Regions from separate parts of the Homo sapiens genome. Here all the other regions are linked to region 3. The links are contacts of gene promoters, found by promoter capture Hi-C in blood cells and fetal thymus (Javierre and others, 2016). All regions are on one chromosome and are shown on one strand. The core of a region is centred on a gene start or on the middle of the fragment in contact, and the rest is flanking DNA. Distances in the headings are between cores, read along the strand shown.

What was found. Contacts are between HindIII fragments. The CHiCAGO score rates a contact against its expected background, and 5 or more counts as called.
Region 1: a fragment that was not itself captured here is called in contact with the fragment with the promoter of ATCAY in region 3 in 2 of 17 cell types (M0 macrophages and M2 macrophages); the score reaches 6.1 in M0 macrophages.
Region 2: a contact is called between a fragment that was not itself captured here and the fragment with the promoter of ATCAY in region 3, in 3 of 17 cell types (erythroblasts, M2 macrophages and M1 macrophages). The highest score is 7.3, in erythroblasts.

What each region holds. Positions count from the first base shown.
Region 1 is chr19:4,202,207-4,206,426 of GRCh38, forward strand. It overlaps ANKRD24 (ankyrin repeat domain 24), which reads left to right. Exons shown (of 22, transcript NM_001393985.1): 7 at 663-720. Among named protein-coding and RNA genes, the nearest start is that of ANKRD24, 22 kb to the left of the region's middle. RefSeq lists a silencer at 2,732-2,945. The HindIII fragment of the contact is 4,292 bases long and covers 818-4,220 here.
Region 2 is chr19:4,219,732-4,223,874 of GRCh38, forward strand. It overlaps ANKRD24 (ankyrin repeat domain 24), which reads left to right. Exons shown (of 22, transcript NM_001393985.1): 19 at 1-27; 20 at 2,939-3,064. Among named protein-coding and RNA genes, the nearest start is that of EBI3, 7.7 kb to the right of the region's middle. The HindIII fragment of the contact is 672 bases long and covers 1,170-1,841 here.
Region 3 is chr19:3,878,447-3,882,293 of GRCh38, forward strand. It overlaps ATCAY (ATCAY kinesin light chain interacting caytaxin), which reads left to right and starts at 2,239. Exons shown (of 13, transcript NM_033064.5): 1 at 2,239-2,562. RefSeq lists an enhancer at 1,914-2,444. The HindIII fragment of the contact is 12,603 bases long and covers 1-3,847 here.

The DNA.
Region 1 (4,220 bases), core at 1,714-4,213, 320 kb after region 3:
CCAGAACCCTAGCTACTCCCTGGATAACCAGGTACTCTCAGACCATCCACATGCTTCTCCTATTTAAGATGTACTCCCAAGCCAGGCGCGGTGGCTCACGCCTGTAATCCCAGCACTTTGGGAGGCTGAGGTCGGTGAAATCGCCTGAGGTCAGGAGTTCGAGACCAGCCTGGCCAACACAGTGAAACCCCGTCTCTACTAAAAATACAAAAAATTAGCTGGGAGCGGTGGTGTGTGCCTGTAATCTCAGCTACTAGGGAGGCTGAGGCAGGAGAATCCCTTGAACTTGGGAGGCGGAGGTTGCAGTGAGCCGAGATCATGCCATTGCACTCCAGCCTGGGCAACAAGAGCGAAACACCATCTAAAATATATATATATACTCCCAATGCCAGGTATTTCCTGAGCTCTGTTTCTCCCCAAGCCCTGGGTCCTTCCTTAGCCCCAGACACTCCCAGAGTTCCCAGCCACTCCTCAAATTCTCAGCTGCTTCTCAGCTCTCAGCTATTTTCTTTTCTCACCAATTTTCATGAAAATGGAGTCCCTTGGGGGCCACGGAAGGGTGAGGCTGAAGTATAGCAGAGCCCAGGGTAGGGAAGGCAGTCCTAGAGAAATCAGGCAGCAAGAAGGATGGCTCCGCCTCAAAGGACTCGCCCCATCCCCAGGCTTCCTGCGTGGTGGACGTCGTGGACAGCAGCGGGTGGACTGCCCTACACCATGCAGGTGGGTGCAGCCCAGCCCTGCCCTGACCCCGAAGCCCAGAGGGTGCTAGACTTGGGGGTTATTCTGCCCAGGGCCCTAGGGACCTGACCTGCTGTGAAGCTTCCTGTCTCCTCCTTTCTTTCTTTCTTTTTTTTTTTTTGAGACGGAGTCTCACTCTGTTGCCCAGGCTGGAGTGCAGTGGCAAGATCTCAGCTCACTGTAACATCCATCTCCCAGGTTCAAGCAATTTTCCTGCCTCAGCCTCCCGAGTAGCTGGGACTAGAGGCACCTGCCACCACACCTGGCTGATGTTTTGTATTTTTAGTAAAGACGGGGTTTCACCATGGTGGCCAGGATGGTCTCGAACTCCTGACCTCAGGTGATCCACCCGCCTTGGCCTCCCAAAGTGCTGGGATTACAGGCGTGAGCCACCGCTCCTGGCCTTCCTTTTCTTTTTATGAGATAGGGTCTTGCTCTGTTGCCCAGGCTGAAGTACAGTGGGGCAATCATGGCTCACTGCATCCTTGACCTCCCGGGTTCAAACGATCCTCCTGCCTCAGACTCCCAAGTAGCTGGGACCACAGGCGTGCACCACCATGCCTGGCTAATATTTTAAATTTATTTGTAGATACAGGATCTTGCTATGTTGCCCAGGCTGATCTCAAACTCCTGGGCTCAAATGATCCTCCCACCTCGGCCACTCAAAGTGCTGGAATTACAGGCGTGAGCCACCTCACCTAGCCTCCTCCTTTTTTTCTTGACATAGAATCTCCCTCTGTCGCCCAGGGTGGAGTGCAATGGCGCAATCTTGGCTCACTGCAACCTCCACCTCCCAGGTTCAAGCAATTCTCCTGCCTTAGCCTCCTGAGTAGCTGGGACTACAGACCTATGCCACAACACCCACCTAAAATTTTTTTGTATTTTTAGTAGAGATGGGGTTTCACCATGTTGGCCAGGCTCATCTCGAACTCCTGACCTCAGGTGATCTGCCCGCCTCGGCCTCCCAAAGTGCTGGGATTACAGGCGTGAGCCACCGTGCCGGCCCTTCTCCCTTTTTTTTTTTTTTTTTTTTTTTTGAGGTGGAGTCTCGCTCTGTCACCCAGGCTGGAGTGCAGTGGCGTGATCTCGGCTCACTGCAAGCTCCGCCTCCCGGGTCCACGCCATTCTCCTGCCTCAGCCTCCCGAGTAGCGGGGACTACAGGCGCCTGCCACCATGCCCGGCTAATTTTTTTGTATTTTTTAGTAGAGACGGGGTTTCACTGTGTTAGCCAGGATGGTCTTGATCTCCTGACCTCGTGATCCGCCTGCTCGGCCTCCCAAAGTGCTGGGATTACAGGCGTGAGCCACCGTGCCGGCCCTTCTCCTTTTTTATTACCTACTGTGTGCCAGGCACTGGAGCCCATCATAAATCCCGGTTACCCTTTGAACCACAGGCTATTAGCCCATTGCACAGATGAGGCTTGATGAGGCTTAATGAGGCTGTCACTTGTCCGCAGCAGGTAAATCGTAGGGAATCCAGGTCGTCTGACCTCAAGGAGCAGTCGAATGTACTCCTGGGCTTTGTGAGGATGAGGAGAGGTCCCTAGGGTTTAATTTCCTTTGTGGAGCCCCTAGGAGATACCAGGAAAACCATAGCTCCAGGCAGCTGGTACCCTCATAATCACCTAATCCAAACTCCTTCCCAGAGGGAGGGAAAGGGACCCACCGACTTGAACCAGAACTCAGCCCCCGACCTGTCCGCTGTCCCCGTGAAATTCAGGCATGGCTTTCGCTGACGACTCAAGAAACATCTGTTCTTTCGGAAACTCAGAATAAAATAGGGCTTTGGGGGTTTTAGTCACTGGGTGAGAATTCTCTGCAGTTGGAGTATGCTGCCACCTAGTGGCGGCAATGCTTCTGGTCACAATATAGGAGTCCGTTGGTTTTTGTCACTCAACAGTTAACTGAGCACTCTGGGAGGCCCAGGCGGGCAGATTAGCAGAGGTCAGGAGTTCGAGAATAGCCTGGCCAACATGGTGAAACCCTGTCTCTACTAATAATAAAAAATTAAGGCCGGGTGCAGTGGCTCACGCCTATAATCCCAGCACTTTGGGAGCCTGAGGCGGGCGGATCATGAGGTCAGGAGATCAAGACCATCCTGGCCAACACGGTGAAACCCTGTCTCTACTAAACAATGCAAAAAATTAGCCAGGCATGGAGGCATGTGCCTGTAATCCCAGCTACTCGGGAGGCTGAGGCAGGAGAATTGCTTAAACCCGGGGAGTGGAGGTTGCATAGAGCCGAGATCATGCCCCTGCACAGCCCGGGCAACAGAGCGAGACCCCATCTCAAAAAAACCAACCAACCAACAACAACAACAAACAGTTATTGAGTACCTACTGTGTGTCAGGCACCGTTCTACGTGTTGTAGATAAGGTTTGCAGCAATCAAAACCTCATACTGCCTCAGACATACAGCAGGTATTCAAACAGAGTTTGTTGACTGAAAAATGGATTTTTGTGCTTAATCAGACTGGATGTCAACCTGCTGGAATTCATACCCAGGGATTCCAGAGACCATGCCCTTGTGTCAGCTGCACAGCCTCCTGGGGAGCCTCCCTGTTTCCACTCTGGTCCTGGGCAAATGGCAGTAGGAGGGATCTCTTAAAATATAAATAGACAGGCCAGGCACAGTGGTGCACGCCTGTAATCCTAGCACTATGGGAGTCAGAGGTGGGAGGATTGCTTGAGCCCAGGAGTTTGAGACCAGCCTGGGCAACATGGCAAAACCCCATCTCTACTAAAAATATAAAAATTAGCCAGGCGTGATGGCTCATGCCTATAATCCCAGCTACTCGGGAGGCTGAGGCAGGAGAATCGCTGGAACCGGGGAGGCGGAGGTTGCAGTGAGCCAAGATCACACCCCTGCACTCCAGCGTGGGTGCAGAGGGAGACTCCATCTCAAAAAATAAAAATAGGTCGGGTGCGGTGGCTCACGCCTGTAATCCCAGCACTTTGGGAGGCCGAGGCGGGTGGATCACGAGCTCAGGCAATCGAGACCATCCTGGCTAACACGGTGAAACCCCGTCTCTACTAAAAATACAAAAAATTAGCCGGGTGTGGTGGCGGGCGCCTGTAGTCCCAGCTACTCGGGAGGCTGAGGCAGGAGAATGGCATGAACCCGGGAGGTGGAGGTTGCAGTGAGCCGAGATCGGGCCACTGCACTCCAGCCTGGGTGACCAGAGCAAGACTCCGTCTCAAAAATAAATAAATAAATAAATAAATAAATAAATAAATAAAATTAAATAAATACATAAACACATAAACGGGGCCGGGCATGGTGGCTGCAGCCTATAATCCCAGCACTTTGGGAGCCAGAGGCAGGAGGATTGCTTGAACCTAGGAGTTTGAGACCAGCCTGGGCAATATAGTGACATTCCATTTCCATAAAAAATTAAAAAAAAGAATTAGCCAGGAGTGGTGGTGCACGCCTACAGTCCCGGCGGCAGATTGCTTGAGCCCAGGAGTTCAAGAAAAGCCTGG
Region 2 (4,143 bases), core at 256-2,755, 340 kb after region 3:
GACAAGGCCAAGGAGAAGGACAAGAAGGTGGGTGCCCCCTCTCCCACACTCAGTCAGGGAGGCATCCACTCAGCAAAGGTTGGGGCCAATCTACGAAGGTCCTCACTGCAAGGGCCTTGGAAAATCAACCCATTTTCCAGAAGGGAAACTGAGGCTCAGAAACGGAAGGGGACCTGGTTACAGCCTCTGACAAGTCAGACACACACAGGCTGCTGTTCCAGGTACCAATTATAACCACAGTTACATTTATTTTATTTTTTTACTTGAGACGGAGTCTCGCTCTGTCGCCCAGGCTGGAGTGCAGTGGCATGATCTCGGCTCACTGCAACCTCTGGGTTCAAGCAATTCTCGTGCCTCAGCCTCCCGAGCAGCTGGGATTACAGGCATGCGACACCACACCCAGCTAATTTTTTATATTTTTAGTAGAGATGGGGTTTCGTCACGTTGGCCAGGCTGGTCTCGAACTCCTGAGCTCAAGTGATCCGCCTGCCTCAGCCCCCAAAAGGGCTGGGGTTACAGGCGTGAGCCACTGCGTCTGTCTCCACAGTTACATTTATTGAGTGCTTACTGCATGCCAGGCCCTGTGGACTGGATGCATTTAGTCACATCCAGTTCTCACAGGATAGGGGCTTTTATTATCCCCATTTGAGGAAACAGAAGCACAGAGAGGTGAAGTCACTTGCCTAAGGTCACACAGCCATGCAGTCTTTCAGCTGGGTTTGTACCCACGTTCCCACGTTTCGTTCCTAAACAATACTAATGATGATAACAACAGCCTCCAGGTGTTAGATTGGGAATTTTTCACACATTACCTTTTTTTATTGTTGTTTTGTTTTTTTCTGAGGCAGAGTCTTGCTCTGTCACCCAGACTGGAGTGCAGTGGCGTGATCTTGGCTCACTGTAAACTCTGCCTCCCGGGTTCACGCCATTCTCCTGCCTCAGCCTCCCGAGTAGCTGGGACTACAGGCGCCTGCCACCACGCCCGGCTAATTTTTTTGTATTTTTAGCAGAGATGGGGTTTCACCATGTTAGCTGGGATGGTCTCAATCTCCTGACCTCGTGATCCGCCTGCCTCGGCCTCCCAGAGTGCTGGGATTACAGGCGTGAGTCACCGCGACCGGCCTCACACATTACCATTTTTAATCTTCCTGCAACGCTAAAAGCCAGAAAGCTTTTTTTTTTTTTGGCAGAGTCTCACTTTGTCACCCAGGCTGGAGTGCAGTGGTGCAATCTCAGATCATTGCAGCTTCGACCTCCTGGGTTCAAGCGATCTTCCTGCCTCAGCCTCCTGAGTAGCCAGGACTACAGGTTACAGGTGTGTGCCATCATGCCTGGCTAATTTTTTTGTTTCTTTCTTTTTTTTTTGAGAGAAAGTTTCACTCTGTCGCTCAGGGTGAAGTACAGTGGCATGATTTTGGCTCACTGCAACCTCACCTCCCGGGTTCAAGAGATTCTCCTGCCTAGCCTCCCGAGTAGCTGGGACTGCAGGCGAGTGCCACCACACCCAGCTAATTTTTGTATTTTTAGTAGAGACTGGGTTTCACCATGTTGGCCAGGCTGGTCTCGAACTCCCGACCTCAGGTGATTCAGCCTCCCAAAGTGCTGGGATTACAGTCATGAGCCACCGTGCCTGGCCTGTTTTTTTTTGCTTTTGTTTGTTTGTTTGTTTGTTTGTTTGGTAAGAGATGGGGTTTCACCATATTGCCCAGGTTGGTCTCAAACTCTTGAGCTCAAGCGATCTGTCTGCCTCAGCCTCCCAAAGTGGTAGGATGACAGGCGTGAGCCACCGCACCTGGTTTCAGAAAGTATTTTTGTCCCCATTTTCCAGATAAGCAAACCAAAGCTTTAAGAGATGAAGTGAGTGGCTCAAAGTCACGCAACATGTCACTGGACAGGAGACGAGACACCCAGAGTCCCAGGCGCTTCAGCATAAAGAATGACCCAGCCTCGACTCACTGTGGGACCTTAGACCAGACACTTCACCTCTCTGAGCTTCAGTTTCCCCTCTGTAAAGGGAGGGCAAAATTGCAGTTAGGATGATGGTTTATCTGTAGCCTGGTTTCTTCCCTTGCACACTGTGGACATAGGAGCGGGATCATTTCCTGGGCTGGGGCCATCTGGGCATTGTAGGGGACTGAGCAGCGTCCTTGACCTCTACCCACTCCAAGCCAAGAGCTCCTCCAAGTCGTGACAACCACAGATGTCCCCACACAACACCCAGTGTCCCCTTGGGGGGCAGAATTGCCTCAAGTTGAGAACCCCAGATCTATAGTAATAATAAGGCCCGGCATTTATTGAGTGCCTACTGTTGACTAGGCACAGTTTAAACTTAATCTCTGTGCAGGATCACAGCAACTACTAAGTTAAGAACTATTGGCCGGGCGCGGTGGCTCACGCCTGTAATCCCAGCACTTTGGGAGGCCCAGGCAAGTGGATCACCTGAGGTCAGGAGTTCAAGACCAGCCTGGCCAACATGGCGAAACCCCGTCTCTACTAAAAATAGAAACATTAGCCAGATGTGGTGATGGGCACCTGTAGTCCCAGCTACTCAGGAGGCTGAGGCAGGAGAATTGCTTGAACCTGGGAGGCGGAAGTTGTAGTGAGCTGAGATCACACCACTGCACTCCAGCCTGGGCAACAGAGCGAGACTCTGTCTCAAAAAGAAACAAACAAAAACAAAAAAATGTGAAAACCAACCTTAGCTTGTGGGTTGTATAAAAACAGGCTGTGTTGGTAACCATAAGCATCTAAAATATAAATAAATACAATTAAAACAGGCTGTGGGCCAGACGTGGCCCTCAGGCCAGAGTTTGCTAACCCCAGGGACGGGACCTTCCCTTGAAAGCCTTTATCCCTGGCCTCTTCCTGCGGCTGCAGAGAGGTCCTCAGCCCCCAGCTCTGGGCTTAGGGTGATCGCTGACAGCACCTGCACCCTCAGATCACAGAACTCTCCAAAGAAGTCTTCAATCTTAAGGAAGCCTTGAAGGAGCAGCCGGCCGCCCTCGCCACCCCTGAGGTGGAGGCTCTCCGTGACCAGGTGAAGGATTTACAGCAGCAGCTGCAGGTAAGGACTGGGCCACGCAGGGGCCAGGGGACCATCAGGGTGGAGGAGTCCAAATATTTACCAATCAGCACAGCGCAGGTGGGAATCCCAGGAGAGGGGCTGGGGTAGGCAGGTGGGGTCCACATCACATGCACGGCATGGCCAGGAAATACTTCCTTTATTTTTTTTGAGACAGGGTCTCACTCCATCGCCCAGGCTGGAGTGCAGTGGCACAATCTCAGCTCACTGCAGCCTCCACCTTCCGGGTTTAAGCAATTTTCATGCCTTAGCGTCCTGCGTAGCTGGAATTACAGGCACGCACCACCACACCCAGCTAATTTTTGTATTTTTAGTAGAGATGGAGTTTCACCATGTTGGCAAGGCTGGTCTTGAACTCCTGGGCTCGCATAAGCCTCCCAAAACGCTGGGATTACAGGCATAAGCCACTGCTCCTGGCCGCCCTCTGCCTTTTTTTTGGACATAGGATCTTGCTCTATTAGGCTGGAGTGCAGTGGTGCAATCATAGCTCACTGAGCAGCCTCAAACTCCTGGCCTCAAGCAGTTCTCCACCTCAACCTCCCAAAGTGCCTGGCCATACATATATATATATATATATATATATATATATTTTTTTTTTTTTTTTTTTGAGCCAGTCTCACTCTGTCACCCAGGCTGGAGTGCAGTGACACGATCTTGGCTCACTGCAACCTCTGCCTCCCGGCTCCCGGGTTCAAGTGATTCTCCTGCCTCAGCTTCCTGACTAGCTGGGACTACAGGTGTGAGCCACCTTGCCTGGGAAATTTTTTGTTTTTTTTGAGTCTCACTTTGTCACTCAGGCTGGAGTGCAGTGCACGATCTCAGCTCACTGCAACCTCCGCCTCCCGGGTTCAAGCGATTCTCCTGCCTTAGCCTCCTGAGTAGCTGGGACTACAGGCATGTGCCACCACTCCCGGCTAATTTTTTTTACTTTTAGTAAAGACGGGGTTTCACCATGTTAGCCAGGGTGGTCTTGATCTCTTGACCCTGTTATCCGCCCGCCTTGGCCTCCCAAAGTGCTGGGATTACAGGTGTGAGCCACTGCACCTGGCCAATTTTTGTAT
Region 3 (3,847 bases), core at 989-3,488:
TCTGCTCTTCGAAAATGTATATTCTGGCCAGGTGCGGTGGCTCACGCCTGTAATCCCAACACTTTGGGAGGCCAAGGTGGGCAGGTTGCCTGAGGTCAGGAGTTTAAGACCAGCCTGGCCAACATGGTGAAACCCCGTTTCTACCAAAAATAAAAAAAATAGCTGGGTGTGGTGGTGCATGCCTGTAGTCCCAGATGCTTGGGAGGCTGAGGCATGAGAATCGCTTGAACCTGAGAGGAGGAGGAGGTTGCGGTGAGCTGAGATCACACCACTGCACTCCAGCCTGGGAAACAGAGCAAGTCTCTGTCTCAAAACAAAACAAAACAAAACAAAACCCAGTATATTCTAATAAGGAGGAGCAGAGAATCAACAACAACAACAAAAAAGTGTAAATAATTTCAATTAATAGTAAGTGCTGTGGGTCAGGCACGGTGGCTCACACCTATAATCCCAACATTTTTCGAGGCTGAGATGAGAGGCTCACTTGAGCCCAAGAATTCAAGACCAGCCTGGGCAATAGAGAGATACCCTATTTCTACAAAAATTACACAGATTAGCAGGGCGTGGTGGTAGGAGCCTGTAGTCTCAACCACTGGAGAGAAAGAGGTGTAAGGATCACCTGAGCCCGGGAGTTCAAGACTGCAGCGAGCTGTGATTGTGCCATTGCACTCCAGCCTGGATGACAGGGAAAACTCCTGTTTCTTAAAAAAATAAGTAAATAAAATAAACATTAAAAACAGCAATAGCAAGAAATACATATAGGCCGAGCACAGTGATTCGCACCTCTAATCCCAGCACTTTGGGAGGCCAAGGTGGGCGGATCACCTGAAGTCAGGAGTTCGAGACCAGCCTGGCCAACATGTTGAAACCCCGCCTCTACTAAAAATACAAAAAAAAAATTAGCCAGGTGTGGTGGTGTGTGCCTGTAATCCCAGCTACTTGGGAGGCTGAGGGAGGAGAACCACTTGAACCTGGGAGTCGGAGGTTGCAGTGAGCCAAGATCGCACCACTGTACTCCAGCCTGGCAACAGAGCGAGACTCCACCTAAAAAAAAAAAAAAAAGAAAGAAAGAAAGAAAGAAAGAAAGAAAGAAAGAAAGAAAGAAAGAAAGAAAGAAAGAGAAAGAAACACATAGGGAGCTTTTCTTGTGCCCCAGCACTGTGTTTAGTGCTGTCTATGCATTATCTCATAATGTGGAAAAGCCATAGCGGCTCCATTTCACAGATGAGAAAAACTGAGGCCCGCAGGTGAGATCACTCATGCCCACTGGTCTGCCAGCTGGGGAGTGGCTGGGCTAGAGTTCAAACCCACTTCCAGTCCGACTGCACGGCCTGCACTCTCCACCCTACCATCTTCCACAGTCTCCTTGAATTCCTCCAGGGCGAGGCCACGCCAGCGCACAACTGCAGGGGGCGCCGTTCCCACAGCAGCCCTGCAAAGTGAGTGTGCCTGAGAAACTTCCGCCTCCCCTGCACCCAGCCCTGTTTAGGGCACGAGGCTGAATCAATGGTAAGTGACCATCTAATGGACCCACAACACGGTGACCTGGGGACAGTCATTTCTTTCTTTTTTTTTTTTTTTCTTTGAGACAGAGTCTCCCTCTGCCGCCCAGGCTGCAGTGCAGTGGCGCCATCTCGGCTCACTGCAACCTCCGCCTCCCAGGTTCAAGCGATTCTCCTGCCTCAGCCTCCCGAGTAGCTGGGATTACAGGCGCACGCCACCACGCCTGGCTAATTTTTGTATTTTCAGTAGAAACGGGGTTTCACCATGTTGGCCAGGCTGGTATCGAACTCCTGACTTCAGGTGATCCTCCCTCCTCGGCCTCCGAAAGTGCTGGGATTACAGGCGTGAGCCATGGCATCCGACCTGGGGACAGTCATTTCTTTGCCTGCACAGACTTTTTGGGGGATGCCACCCCTCACCCCTGCTCCCTTTGCAAGGAGAAGTGCCAAGAAGACCTTTCCCAACTCCCCCACCCCCCATTCTCTAAGGAATGAGGCCATCTTGCCATTTATTTATTTATTTGTCCGTTGTTTTGTTTTTAAATCTCTGATGCGCCATCAGAAAATTATTTCTGCCTCTGCCCCTGGCGTGGCTTTCGGAGATGCTTGTCTGTCAGCCAATGGGGAGGATCGGATTCTGGCAGGGGGCTGTGCTTTTCCGTCAGGCCGCCACCCCCCACCCCCTCCTCCCTGCACACAAAAGCAGCATAAATTAACCGTCTTCGGGAAGCCGAGCCTCTGCCAGCCCTGAGCTGGGAAGAAGCAGCTACCTCGGAGGCAGGGCGCGCAGGCGGGCGGCGATGAGAGGGGGCGCAGCCGCAGCCCCGCGCTGGGGAGCCCACCGCTAACCCTGCACCCCACCCACCCCTGCACAAAAGAGCTGGCGGGCGCTGGCCACGTCGCCCTGGGTGACCTTCCTCGGATGCAGAATCCGCCCCTGCGAGCATCCTCTTCCTCCTAGGCTCTGAAGGCCCGGGGAGCGTGAGCGATGCCCAGCTGCACCCGGGCAGGGCTCGCCTTTGTTTGCCAGTAAGGAGGAGAGGCTGTCTCAGCTGCAGAGGTGAGTGCGCGCATCTCCCCTTCTCCCAGGATAAACCGTCTCCCTGGAAGGTTTATCCGGCAGCCTTTGCCGCCTCTAAATCCCTTTCCAGCAGATGGGGCGGGTGGGAGCAGAGAGCCACGGTCTTGTGACTCCGTGAAGGCCCTCACATCCCTGTTCCCGGTACCAGGGAAAACCGTTCCCTGAGCTGCGCCCAGCAACACAGTTTACCTTCCGCGCGCACCGTTCCCCTCTAAGTGCACCATTTTCAGGACACGCTGAGAGCTCGGGCGGATGAAAACCTCAGCTTCTCTCTGGGACGCTGAAATAGACCCATCCTAGCCCTATGTATTTCCTATTTATAACGCTAGGAAGGCCACCAGCCGACGATTTCGGGAAAAAAAAAAAAAAAAAATCTAAGTGTGTCGATAAAGGCTGTCCTGTGGGGTGGGGAGGAAGGGGGTGGTTTATGGTTTAAGACACAGATGCCTCCTCCTTATTGGAACTCGTATGTGATTTGTTAATAATCAGACATCAGGGCTCAAATGAGCGCTTCACTCCCGTTCCTTGATGTCACTGTCTTCTTTTGGCCGTCCCCAAATGCGAAGCCAGGATCTGAGTGCAGGAGTGTCCGGGGCCCACTGAGGACCCACCCCACCCCATCCTTAGAAGACTGTGGAGTCAACGCCTGTGGCTGCAGCTGGCAGGGGGTGGGGGTCGGGGGCGGGGCTGGTGGGAGTGTTCCTGGGGGCTGAGGTCACACCCAGCTCAGTATAAGGAAGGGAGAGGCGAAGACCCCTTCCTCCGGAGAGCAAATGCGTTTCTACTGCCGAGGAGAACTTACCCTCGCGGGAAGGGCCTGGCTGGCTGCTGCCACCGCCCCCCCCCCGACCCCATAGCATCCAGGAGGGATTTTTTTTTTTTCCATGCTGCGTGTTACTGTCCCTCCTCCAAGCATGAATGACGACATTGAGGACAGAGAATCGAGTGAGAAACGCTCACCCTGTACGGGGGAGGGTCTAGTTTTAGCCGTCCCCTCCCCCCACTTCCTCATCTGGCTGAGGCTGCCTCTGGGTCCTTCCTTGCTAAGCCACAGTCCCCTGTCCCCGATGCAAACCCGATATCTATGCTGGGGGGCTGCAGGTAACCTACTCCACAGAGAGGCAGCCTGGATGCCATGAGAGTTGGGGGCCTTAGATGCTTCATGTATTTGGTTTTTTTGAGACAGGGTCTTGCTATCTTGCCCGGGCTGGTCTTAACCTCCTGTGCTCAGGCGATCCTCGCAAAGTGCTGGGATTACACGTGT